Linked DNA regions of Homo sapiens: region 2 is linked to region 1. The links are contacts of gene promoters, found by promoter capture Hi-C in human tissues and cell types (Jung and others, 2019). All regions are on one chromosome and are shown on one strand. Each heading gives the region's core, a stretch centred on a gene start or on the middle of the fragment in contact. The rest is flanking DNA. Distances are from core to core; before and after follow the strand shown. Region 1 holds the start of DOCK1 (dedicator of cytokinesis 1). Region 2 overlaps UROS (uroporphyrinogen III synthase).

What was found. Contacts are between HindIII fragments. The study calls those that stand out against the background at their distance.
Region 2: a contact is called between a fragment that was not itself captured here and the fragment with the promoter of DOCK1 in region 1, in 1 of the 25 tissues and cell types used here (IMR-90 fibroblasts).

What each region holds. Positions count from the first base shown.
Region 1 is chr10:126,902,155-126,907,488 of GRCh38, reverse strand. DOCK1 (dedicator of cytokinesis 1) reads right to left here and starts at 2,061. Exons shown (of 52, transcript NM_001290223.2): 1 at 1,926-2,061. The coding sequence starts at 1,971. LOC105378550 (a long non-coding RNA gene) reads left to right here and starts at 2,111. Exons shown (of 2, transcript XR_946449.3): 1 at 2,111-2,929; 2 at 3,047-5,334. It overlaps LOC124900289 (a long non-coding RNA gene), which reads right to left and starts at 1,758. Exons shown (of 2, transcript XR_007062336.1): 1 at 1-1,758. RefSeq lists an enhancer at 292-1,040. The HindIII fragment of the contact is 5,553 bases long and covers 1-4,400 here.
Region 2 is chr10:125,815,578-125,820,911 of GRCh38, reverse strand. UROS (uroporphyrinogen III synthase) reads left to right here. Exons shown (of 10, transcript NM_000375.3): 2 at 4,387-4,475; 3 at 4,652-4,735. The coding sequence starts at 4,413. MIR4484 (microRNA 4484) reads right to left here and starts at 1,172; the gene lies at 1,090-1,172. RefSeq lists a cis regulatory region at 4,209-4,221. The HindIII fragment of the contact is 5,078 bases long and covers 1,329-5,334 here.

The sequences.
Region 1 (5,334 bases), core at 812-3,311:
TGGTGATGTGACCTCAGGCAAGCAATCCACCTCTTCCTTGCCTCTGTAGAATGGGAGCAGTGATGGCCCCCACTGCACCCCGATGGCCCCCACTACACCCCCAATGGCCACTACTGCACCCTGGCCATGGGCACCTAAGTTGCTTCCTCAGCAGGGCCAGGGCTATGGGATGCCTGCTCCTCTGCCAGCCTCCTGCCTCTCCTGCCTATCCACCTCTTCCTCTCTCTCTGCGTGTGCTGGTGCTAGGTTCCCTGGGAGTCAGTCCTCAGCTCTCTCCTCTACACACTACCCCCGCAGGGACCCCCACTGTCGCCACAACCCAAGCATTCTCAGGTGGAATATCCACCCCGAACCTCTCGCCTCTGATGCAGACTGAAGGCCCGTGCCAAGTGCCCCAGACTGAATCCATTAGGTGGTGCACAGGGTGCAGGTTACACACTGAGTCTGCAGTCAGATGAGCTCTCCTGCACTTTTGTGAATGTGTCTGGGCCTCAGTTTCCTCATCTGCAAAATGGGGAGATGGGGAGGAAGCTCAGTCATAATGGTCCTGAAGCAAGGAGGCCCCCTATGCCTCCCAGCATGTGGAACAAGCTAAGTGCAGGCCCGGTAGGACCCAGGGCTGTCCCAGGACTGTCCCCGTGACCACTGTCCAGCTGGCTCCGTGGTCAGGGCATACTGTAAGTCATTGACAGCAGAGAGAAGCAACTGTTCACAGAAAGGAGAGCGCTCCGGGGACAAGGGCTGCCAGGGCGCTTCCCAAAAGTCAGAGAGCCAGGATTCGAACCACACCAGCAGAGGGTCGGGCAGGTCCAGCACGGGCCAGGCACAGAATGGGCGCGGGGCTGCTGCTGAGACGGTGCCCTTGGAGGACACAGCCTGGGCTGTGGGAGGCGAGACCACCAAAGGTCTTCCCAGTCGGGTCGAGTGGCCTGGATGAGGCAGGCGGTCAAGGATGTCTGTGGATGGTGGGACGGGGAATAGCAAGCCCGAAAACCAACTGGGAAGATCCCGGACCCGGGAGAGCAGGAGAGTAGCCACGGCCCAGTCCCGACACCAGGCGCGCAGATCACGAAGAGGTGGGCGTCCGCAGGCCTCGGCGACCGGCTGCGGGTCCCCGGGGCGCAAGGATGCGGGTCCCACGCGGACGGGCCCGTCTATTCAGCCGCAAGGGAAAGCCTCCCTCTCAGGAATGCGCACTCGGGTCCGAAATGTAAACTTGCAACCCGACTCCTTCCATCCCCCCTCGGAAGCGACAAAGAGCCGCGGAGCAAAAACAGGCCCCCGCTCTCCCGGAAGGGTCTCCAGGCCTGGGGCCACTGGGGCGCTCGGCCGCTCGCCTTCTCTCCAAGGTCCCACACGGTCCCCAGCGAGACCGCCGAGGGGCAAGGGGCGCTGGCCACCCAGGTCGCGCCCCCTCCTCCCCGCCGGGAAAGGGCGGAATTATCCGCTGGGACCGCGCCGACCTGAGCCCGCCCACCCAGAGCCCGGACGCGGGACGCAAGTTCATCCAAGAAGCAGAAGCCGCCGCGAGACAGTGACCCCTGGGCTTCCCTGACGGGCCCAGCCGCGCAGATAGCAGCGGCCGGGGCCGGGGAGTTGGGGGTAGCCCGGGGGGCTCCACGGCAGAGGTCCAGAGGAGCGGGCGTCGGAGGGGACACCCTAGGGAGGGACGCGCCCGCCCCCATTCCCACCCCACCCCCTCGTGTTCCCGACCCGCATCCCCGGGGCTGGAGCTGACGCCGCCGGGGGCGCGGGGCGGCCGGGGTCGCCGGGCATTGCGAGCGGGGCGGCGGCGCGGGCGCGGGCGGAAGCGCCTCTCCCCGGCCCGGCGGCCGCTCGGGGCGGCGGCAACAGGCGCCCGGCACACCCGCCCCGCCGGAGCCTGGGCTTGGGGCGAGAGGCGCGGCGGCGGCGGCGCTGCTCACCCACGCCGTACTTCTCCTCGCGCTTGGTGGGCACCCAGCGCGTCATGGCGCCGCCGGAGCCGCCGCGGGTCGGGCAGGAAACTCCGCGTCTAGGCCGCCATTTTCCATTCCTTTCGAGCCGCGACAGGATGGGGAGGAAAAAGTTTGCGGCGGAGGCGGCGTCATGTGGGACGGGGCGGGCGGAGCGTCGCGGGCCGGATGGGAAAGGCCGGGAGCGCCGGCGGGAGGCGGGACGGCCGCGGGCTCTGCGCCCGCCCTCGGCGCGGACCCTGGGCCCCGACCCCGCGGTCGCCGGGGCTCCCCTTCCTCTGTCCCAGTGCGCCCAGCCCCGCGCTCCGCACCCGGGCACCCCCGCGGGGTTCTCCTGAGTTCCTGGAGCTCCCGGGGCTGGCGCTCACGCCGTGAGAGGGGTGCGCCCTTAGGGGGGCGGGACGGACGGGGGGTTTCTACGGGAGGTAGGAAACGGGCGGCTTGCAAGGCGCGGGCTTAGGCCGGAGCCTGGTGGTGCGAGGTCCCCAGCTCGGATTTCTCCCTGGTGGAGAGTCCCGGAGCAGAACAAACCAGCAGAGGCTCTGGAAAGGGTCCTCCTGAGCACGTGGCTCATTCATTCATTCGACAAACGTTACCTGAGCGCCTGCCCACTCATTGCCCGAGTGTGCTGGGAGCGCCGCACCAACTGCCTGGTAGGTGGGAGAAGGGACACGTCAGGTAACAAACAGCACAGGTAAGTGCCGGCCACTCAAATGGGGTGGAAAGAGGTGGCACAGCGCTGCCGAGGGAGTGCGTTCCAGACAGGTGACCTCTTGCTTGGGTGCTGAATGAGTGGAGTTTTCCAGAGAGACCAAGAGGAAGCAGCCGCAGAAACCTCAGCCCAGCTGGGCTTGCAGAAGCTAATGCTAGAATAGTTGTGGGACTCAGGATCTGCTGAAGTCGGGGGAAGAGAGAAGTAGGGAAAGGAAAGCCCAGGCCACGCGTGGGGCTCAGGAACGGCATCCTCGCCCGAGGTGGGAGTTCTTCTCAGGCCCTGGTGTTTCCCATGACAGTAAAAGGTGGGGGCTTCAGATTTCTCCAAGGGAAAAGTTAAAGCAACACACACCTATTTATTTTTACTGTAATTTCAGAAAAGAGAGGTTAAAACCAAGACATGGACAAAGCCTCCGAATGAAGGCAGCCCTTTAAATGGAATAAATTTGGTTTCATGGCACATTAATGGGGTGTCTTCTCTCCGAAGACACAGAGACAACTACAGTAGGTCTGGGGGCCGTCAGGGATTGGAGGAACGAAGGTAAGAAAAGGAAGAAGGTAAGAAAAAGAGGTCCCTACCTCTGTGAGGTAGGGACAGTGCTGAACAGCAGGGCTGGGAGAGCCCACAGGGAGGTGGCCAGGATGGCCACAGGGCCTGGGGAGGACCAGGTGGGGCACCATCCTGCGGTAGAGAATGCCCGTCACCTGCCCTAGGGGCCACCCAGAATGCAGATTAAATAAGTATTTGGGAATGGCACAGGAGCTTTTCCATTTTCGTGGGTTAGAGGAAAGCTGCTGCGTTCAAGAGGATAACGTGGGACCTGAGCATTCTGGTAAGTCAACCCCACATTCATGGAAAGCCACGGGCTCTGTTTTACTGATAAGGAACTGAAGTCCCACAGAGGAAGTGGCCAGGCTCACTCACACACAGCATGCACTTGAAGCTTTCTGTGGAAATCAGAAACCTCCGGGGCTCAGGCGCTGTAGTGGTGGCCTGGTGACTCTGACCCCTTGAAGGAGAAGCATCTGTGAAGGTGCTGTCCAGGACAAGTAGGGTGCTCTACGGTAAAGGACATGGTGGCCTGACCTGCTCCAGAGCAGGGAGGCCTCCCTTGAGGAAATAAGATAAACCCAGACTTTAAGGATAAGCAGAAACCAGCTAGGTGAACTGGAGTGGGAACAGCACGTGAAAAGGCCCTGGTTTAGGAAGGAGCACCACTCCTTCAGAGCACAGAAAGGCCAGGATGGCCGAAGCATAGGGAACAACAGGAAAGTGACATAAATTGAGGCTGCAGAGGTAGAAGAAGGGCCTTATTGGTCGTGCTAGGAATTTGGAATTCTGCAAAGAAGCCTGGGAAACAGATTTTGGTGACACTCGCCTTCTCTTTAATGTGCAGTTTCAGTTCTGTTGGTGTGATTCTGCATTGGAGATGGCGTGCTGTAACGAATGGCCAGGAGCTTAAGAGTCATGCAGACTTGGGAGGCCTGGCCTTGCCACGCCCAGCTGCATGGCCATCCTCCTCCTGTTTCTGGCCGTTCTGTTTCTAAACCTTGGGGTTCTGATATTCCTACATGTAAACTAGGGGCTGTAATAGGAATCTCACAGGTGAGTCTTAGGATTATAAGAGGAGACATGACTGCATGTGTAAGACATCATAATGATGTGCTTCCTCATCTGACCCTACCTCCAGGTTCTTTGATAACCTCATGGTTCCCATTTTCTAGAACAGTTGCCACTTGCACTCAGATAAAGGTGACTCACTGAATGCATAAATAAGTGTAGTGCCGGATTTGCATACTTTTGGTAGACTGTCATATAATAAATTTATAAATCAGAATTTTAAAACTCCAGGTGGGGCCGGGCACAGTGGCCCATGCTTGTAATCCCAGCCAGCATTTTGGGAGGCTGAGGCAGGCAGATCACTTGAGGTCAGGAGCTCGAGGTCAGCCTGGCCAACCAGGGTTTTAGTAGAAACCCTGTCTGTACTAAAAATACAAAAATTAGCTGGGCGTGGGTGCGCATACCTGTAGTCCCAGCTACTCAGGAGGCTGAGGCAGGAGAATTGTTTGAACCCAGGAGGTGGAGATTGCAGTGAAGCAAGATCGCACCGCTGCACTCCTGCCTGGGTGACAGAGTGAGACTCCATCTCAAAAACAAACAAAACAAAACTCCAGGTGGACCACGGGCCAGGTGGTTGTAGCTTCAGTCCCTTGATTGCAACATGTGCCCAAGTTTGGCTGAGATGTACCTGTAGCCACGGTCCTTGAAGCCCTGAGAAGATTTGTCAGCATCCCCACGGTGCTCCAGCAGTGCTCTCATCTTGTGGCTCTAAATCGAGTCCATGGCCCTCTCTCACTGTCCTATGGTTGCATAAGCTCAGAACTGGCTTCGTCTCCAATTCCAGGAGCCCTGGAGGTTGTGGCCTGTTGACATTTTTACCTCCTGAGTCAATGTGGCTGGGCCACAGGTCTCAGTTGCCCTCCCAGGCATCTTGCAGGACTTGGATCTGTGCCAAGCTTGTGGGTGTGAACAAGCCCAAGAATGCTGAGGCTCTCAGTTGCTCAGTGCTGCCCATCACTGGGATTTCAGAGTAGTGACCCCCCTCCTCCAAGATACAACAGAATCTTGCTTTGGGGCCATGAAGAACACAATCAATATTACAGT
Region 2 (5,334 bases), core at 2,618-5,117, 1.1 Mb after region 1:
TAGGGAACTGAACTCAGCAGGTAGTAGATTGCTTACCACTCGTTCAGTGTTCATCTTTAGCTCAGAATTTATCTTAATGAGGCAGAGGGATGGTAGCAAGTGGTTAGGAGACTGAGCATGGGCTTCAGACCAGGATCCAAATTCCATCTCTCCCACTTACTGTGCTGTGTGACCTGGGACAAGTTACTCAAACCTCCCAGGGACTTGGTTTCACCTCCTGCAAATAAGGCTAACACCACCTACCTTGCAGGTTTAAGTGAGGATTGCAGTCTTGCATGTAAAATGCTTAGCCCAGTGTGATAGTTACTTTTACATGTCATCTTGACTGGATCACGGATGCCCAGATATCTGGTTAAACATTATTTCTTGGTGTGTCTGTGAAGTTGTTTTCAGAAAAGATGAGCATTTGAATGGATAGACTGAGTAAAGTGGATTGCCCTCCCCAAAGTAGGTGGGCAGCATCCAGTCTGTTGAGGGCCTAAATAGAACAAAAAGCCAAAGAAGGAAGAATGTGTCCTGTCTCCTCCTGCATGCTTGATCTGGGATATCTTCTGCCCTTGGTGCTCCTGGTGCTGAGGCCTTCACACTCAGGCTGGAACCTACACCCTTGGCTCTCAGGCCTTCAGGCTACAACACCAGCCTTCCTGCTAACAAGTCTCCAGCTTGCAGACAGCAGATCATGGGACTTCTCAGCCTCCATAACTGCATGAGCTAATACCTTATAACAAATCCCTTTCTAGATGTAAATATATGCCATTGGTTCTGTTTCTCTGAAGAACTCTAATACACCCAGTAATTAACATGAGTAAATGCTCAGTAAAAGGGTGACTGTTGTTATTGCTGATACCCAGAACACCATGACATAGAAGGTACGGGTTTGAGGTTTGGTTCTTTCTTACCAGTAAGGTGCCCTTATTCCAGTCATTTTTTTTTTCTTTTCTTTTTCATCAATGATTGATGAACATAAGTATGAGGGTAAAATGGCAGAGCAAGCATTAGACTGTAAATCTAGAGACAGGTTGAGCCCTCTTTTTACCAGTGCCGAGGTGAGTTTCATGTTGGAAGCTTCAGGAGCAGCTTCATTTCTGCTGGGGCTTCTCCCGCCTTTTTCCCCCTCAATGGGAAATAACAGGTTTCGTTATTTTCATTGGAAAAAAAGGCAGAGGAAACCCCAGACACTGCACGGTTTTTAGGCCCTAGCCTCACCAGTCTCAAGCCTCCTATCAAGGAGGGCCATATAGTGCCTCTGATCTGCTTGATGCAGACCCTAGGGTCCTTCCCACTCCCATGAGCCACCCACCAGAGTGAGCTAAGAAATCAACTGGCAGAGAGCAGAGTCACGTATGGCCAAGAGGAATTGTTCTGGGGGTTGTTTAGTAAGCAGGAGAGAGGGAGGAGAAGAAAAACTGCACAGGGATCAGATGCCTCCAGCAGAAGAAAGCGAGGCATAGAGATCCCTTACCATCTGAGTCACGTGGCACCAAATATGTTACCAGTGGCAAATCAGTAGACACCTGCAGCAACCTCAATCTTGTCTCCTCAGAAGAAAATTCAACTGGGGGCATAAGGCAGAAAAAGTGACCGAGGCAAGCTTCAGAGCAGGAGTGGAAGTTTATTTTAAAAAACTTTAGGCCGGGTGCAGTGGCTCACACCTGTAATCTCAACACTTTGGGAAGCCAAGGCAGCCGGATCACGAGGTTAAGAGATGGAGACCATCCTGGCCAACATGCTGAAACCCCATCTCTACTAAAATACAAAAATTAGCTGGGCATGGTGGCGCATGCCTGTAGTCCCAGCTACTCAGGAGGCTGAGGCAGGAGAATCGCTTGAACCCGGGAGGCGGAGGTTGCAGTGAGTTGAGATTGCACCACTGCACTCCAGCCTGGGCGACAGAGCAGGACTGCATCTCAAAAAACAACAACAAAAAACTTTAGAACAGGAAAGAAAGTAGAGTATGCTTGGGAGAGACCTAAGCAGGCAACTTGAAGGACAAGTGCTCCATTTTACTTTAAGGAAAATTAATCATTCTTTCTGTTTCAAAGATGCTGGGTAAAATTGAAATTGTTGTTTTCCCACAAGGTGAGCAAATAATGAGCATCTACTACAGGAAAGAAAGTCCATCAAAAAAGCCAACAATGGAGAGGCTCACAGCCCCTTTCCAATGTACAGGAATCTGAAACTGAGACTGAGGCAAGAGCAGCCTAGACCAGAACCCAGACACTGGCCCTCCTGTGCAAACACCCTCTACTCCACCAAGCCTCTTCCTAAAGCCCAAGGTGGCGACATGTTAACCTATCTGTGCACGCTTCTCAATTGATTTCTTTCCCAATCAGCCTGATAATATGTGACTCTAGCACAGCAAAGAATCATCAACAACAGAACCTTTTAATTTTATATTATTATTATTATTATTATTATTTAGACAAGATCCTTCTCTGTCACCCAGGCTGGAGTGCAGTGGCACGATTATAGCCCACAGCAACCTTGAACTCCTGGGCTCAAGTGATTCTCCCACCTCAGCCTCCTGCGTAGTTAGGACTACAGGGATGCGCCACTATGCCCGGCTCCTTGTTAACAACTTTTAAAATTTTTGTAGAAATGGGGTCTCGCTATGTTGTCCAGGCTGATCTTGGACTCCTGCTCTCAAGCAATCCTCCTGCCTCAGCCTGCCAAAGTGCTGAGATTACCAGGCATGAACCACTGTCCTGGCCTAATTTTATATTAGAAATGCTTTCAGTGTTTGGGAATGATTGTATACAGGATTAAAAAAGAAGACAAATGCTTTCAGTGACGTCAGATAAAGGATAAGGGTAGTAGTTGGATTTTTATTTGCAACACATCTCAGGGAGCTCTTTATTATCCAGAAGCCTAAACTTCATGCCAGCATCGGTTTTATTACCTAAGAGAACCACAGATTAGAACCCAGGAGAAATATTTTCTCTGTTTACAATGGGTAGATTGATTTTTCTTTGGGGTGTTTGCATAACTAAACTAAGCACTTTGTACTACAGTGATACTTTATATTTTTATACCTCTATTTTTCCCAAACATTTTCGTATTCAAAGTGTATGTGAGGCATAATATAGCGTAGGGGGTTAAAAGCACAGACTTTGGAGCCAGACTGGTTGGGTGTGAATCCCAGCTCTGCCACGTAGCAATTCTGAGACTTTGGATGAGTGTCATCCTCTGTACACCTCAGCTTCTTCCTAAGCCTCGTAGGTGGACTTAATGCATGTGAAGCTCTTAGAATAGTGCCTGGGAGGCAGTAAGTTCAATAGATCTGTTCGCTGTTTTTATCTTCTTTGAGTCACTCAGCAACCCTAAGGCTTGGTAGGGCAGAGGTTATTCCCATTTAACATGGGAAAAAACAAGATCACACCATGGTTAAGTCATAAAGCTGAGACCAGAGCTCAGGTCCGTTGGCCCTTAGTCCTGTGCTTATTCTGTGACACCATACTTCCTTCCTTATATTATCACCTTAGAGAAGGGAGAAGGTAAAAGGGCAAGCAGAAATGAGGAAAAGAGAGGAGAAATACATCTATAAGGCTGGGTGCAGTGGCTCACTCCTGTAATCCCAGCATTTTGGGAGGCCGAGGCAGGTAGATCACCTGAGCTCAGGAGTTCGAGACTAGCCTGGGCAACATGGTGAAACCCTGCCTCTAAAAAAAAAAAAAAAAAAAAAAAAAATACATCTATAAACAAGAAGCTTCCCGTTGCTATTAAGATAAGAGCCACATTCCCTAATATGACCCAACGAGACCCAAAAGAATTCTAGTGTGAGCATCTTTATGTTAATCTTTGGACACATTTATCAGTATTGCTTTAGTATTCTTAGAAGTGAAATTACAGGAAGAAAGAAGATGAAGTATATAAAGCTTTTGATGTCAACAAATCGTTTTCCATGTTGTTAGACTCTCTTATGATACTTGACGTTTAGAAAACATCATTTAATAAGTAGAAGAGTCAATATAATTATTTCCCAAAGTGCTTATGAGCTACTTAGCATATTTATCTTGAAATGGAAAAGCTATTTATCTCCTTAAAACATAAGATACCAATTTCTCTGTTTGTTGTTGATACAACCCTAAATTTACATCAGTTCTCTTTCCGGAACCATAAACGTTTGGCATAGGACACTTGGCTTTCACTAATGGTTTCATCTGTCTTTCCAAGTGATATCAACTGCTAACATGCTCTTTCTTGGCCTTATCAGTGACAGGGGTCTTCAGAAAGAACAAGCCCATTAGTGCTAAGTCATGGTGTAGGAGGGATAGGTCTCTTCCACAAGCATTTGATTGCCTTCTTCTTGTGTACCGTCCCCATCGGAAATTGCTTAGGAAGAGTCTTTGAGATCTAATTAAGATCTGTTTCCTTGCTCTGTCGCAGTGCCCTATAAGGACTGCCAGGCAATAATGAAGGTTCTTTTACTGAAGGATGCGAAGGAAGATGACTGTGGCCAGGATCCGTATATCAGGGTAAGTGGCCTGAGACTCCTTATCCCACAGTGTCCTTTCTACTGAGTCAAGGGGCCTGGAGCAGGCAGGGATGGGTTTTGCAAAACCTCAGAGGAACTGACGCAGAATAAATTGTTAATGTTCCCTTATTTTAAAAACAGCCCTAGCCAATCCAGAACTATATTCTTTCATTTCAGGAATTAGGATTATATGGACTTGAAGCCACTTTGATCCCTGTTTTATCGTTTGAGTTTTTGTCTCTTCCCAGTTTCTCTGAGAAGGTAAGGCCTGTTGTGACTGAGCACCATGTTAGTGTTTGATTTCTCCCTTGCCAGCTGAAGCCAGAGAGGGACTATTTTACTGTCTTCTTATTTTATTCCCAAACTTTAAAACATGGCAGCATAACTTCACCTGGCTCCAGGAGGCTGCTGCTGTTGGGAGGTTCTGACTGAGCCTCTATCAGCCCCTCCAGAAAGCCACCCAGACTCAGAGATTGGGGCCCAGGAGAGCAGGTCATGGTGAGAGCAGCAAACCTGCATTGCTCTCAGCAGTCCTAGAACCCTTTCACTCATCCTCTCATTTAATCTACCCCTCACCCCCAACTTCTGCAAAGCAGGCCAGGGAGGTATTATTTTCCCGTTTTAGAGATTGGGGTCTCAAATTAGGCAACTCAGCTAAGACCTCTAGCAAGTAAGAGACAGGGCTGGGACTCAAACCCAGGGCTTCTGCCCACAACTTCAGTTCTTCTTCCAGTGAGGAGTGATAAAAATTGCAGGAGACAAGTCCAGTAAAGCCTTCCAAATGCTTCAGAGTGAAAATTCAGTGCCCACAGCTTCAGTGAAGTCAGATATGTACAGCAGCCTAGTGCCTGGCTCAGAGT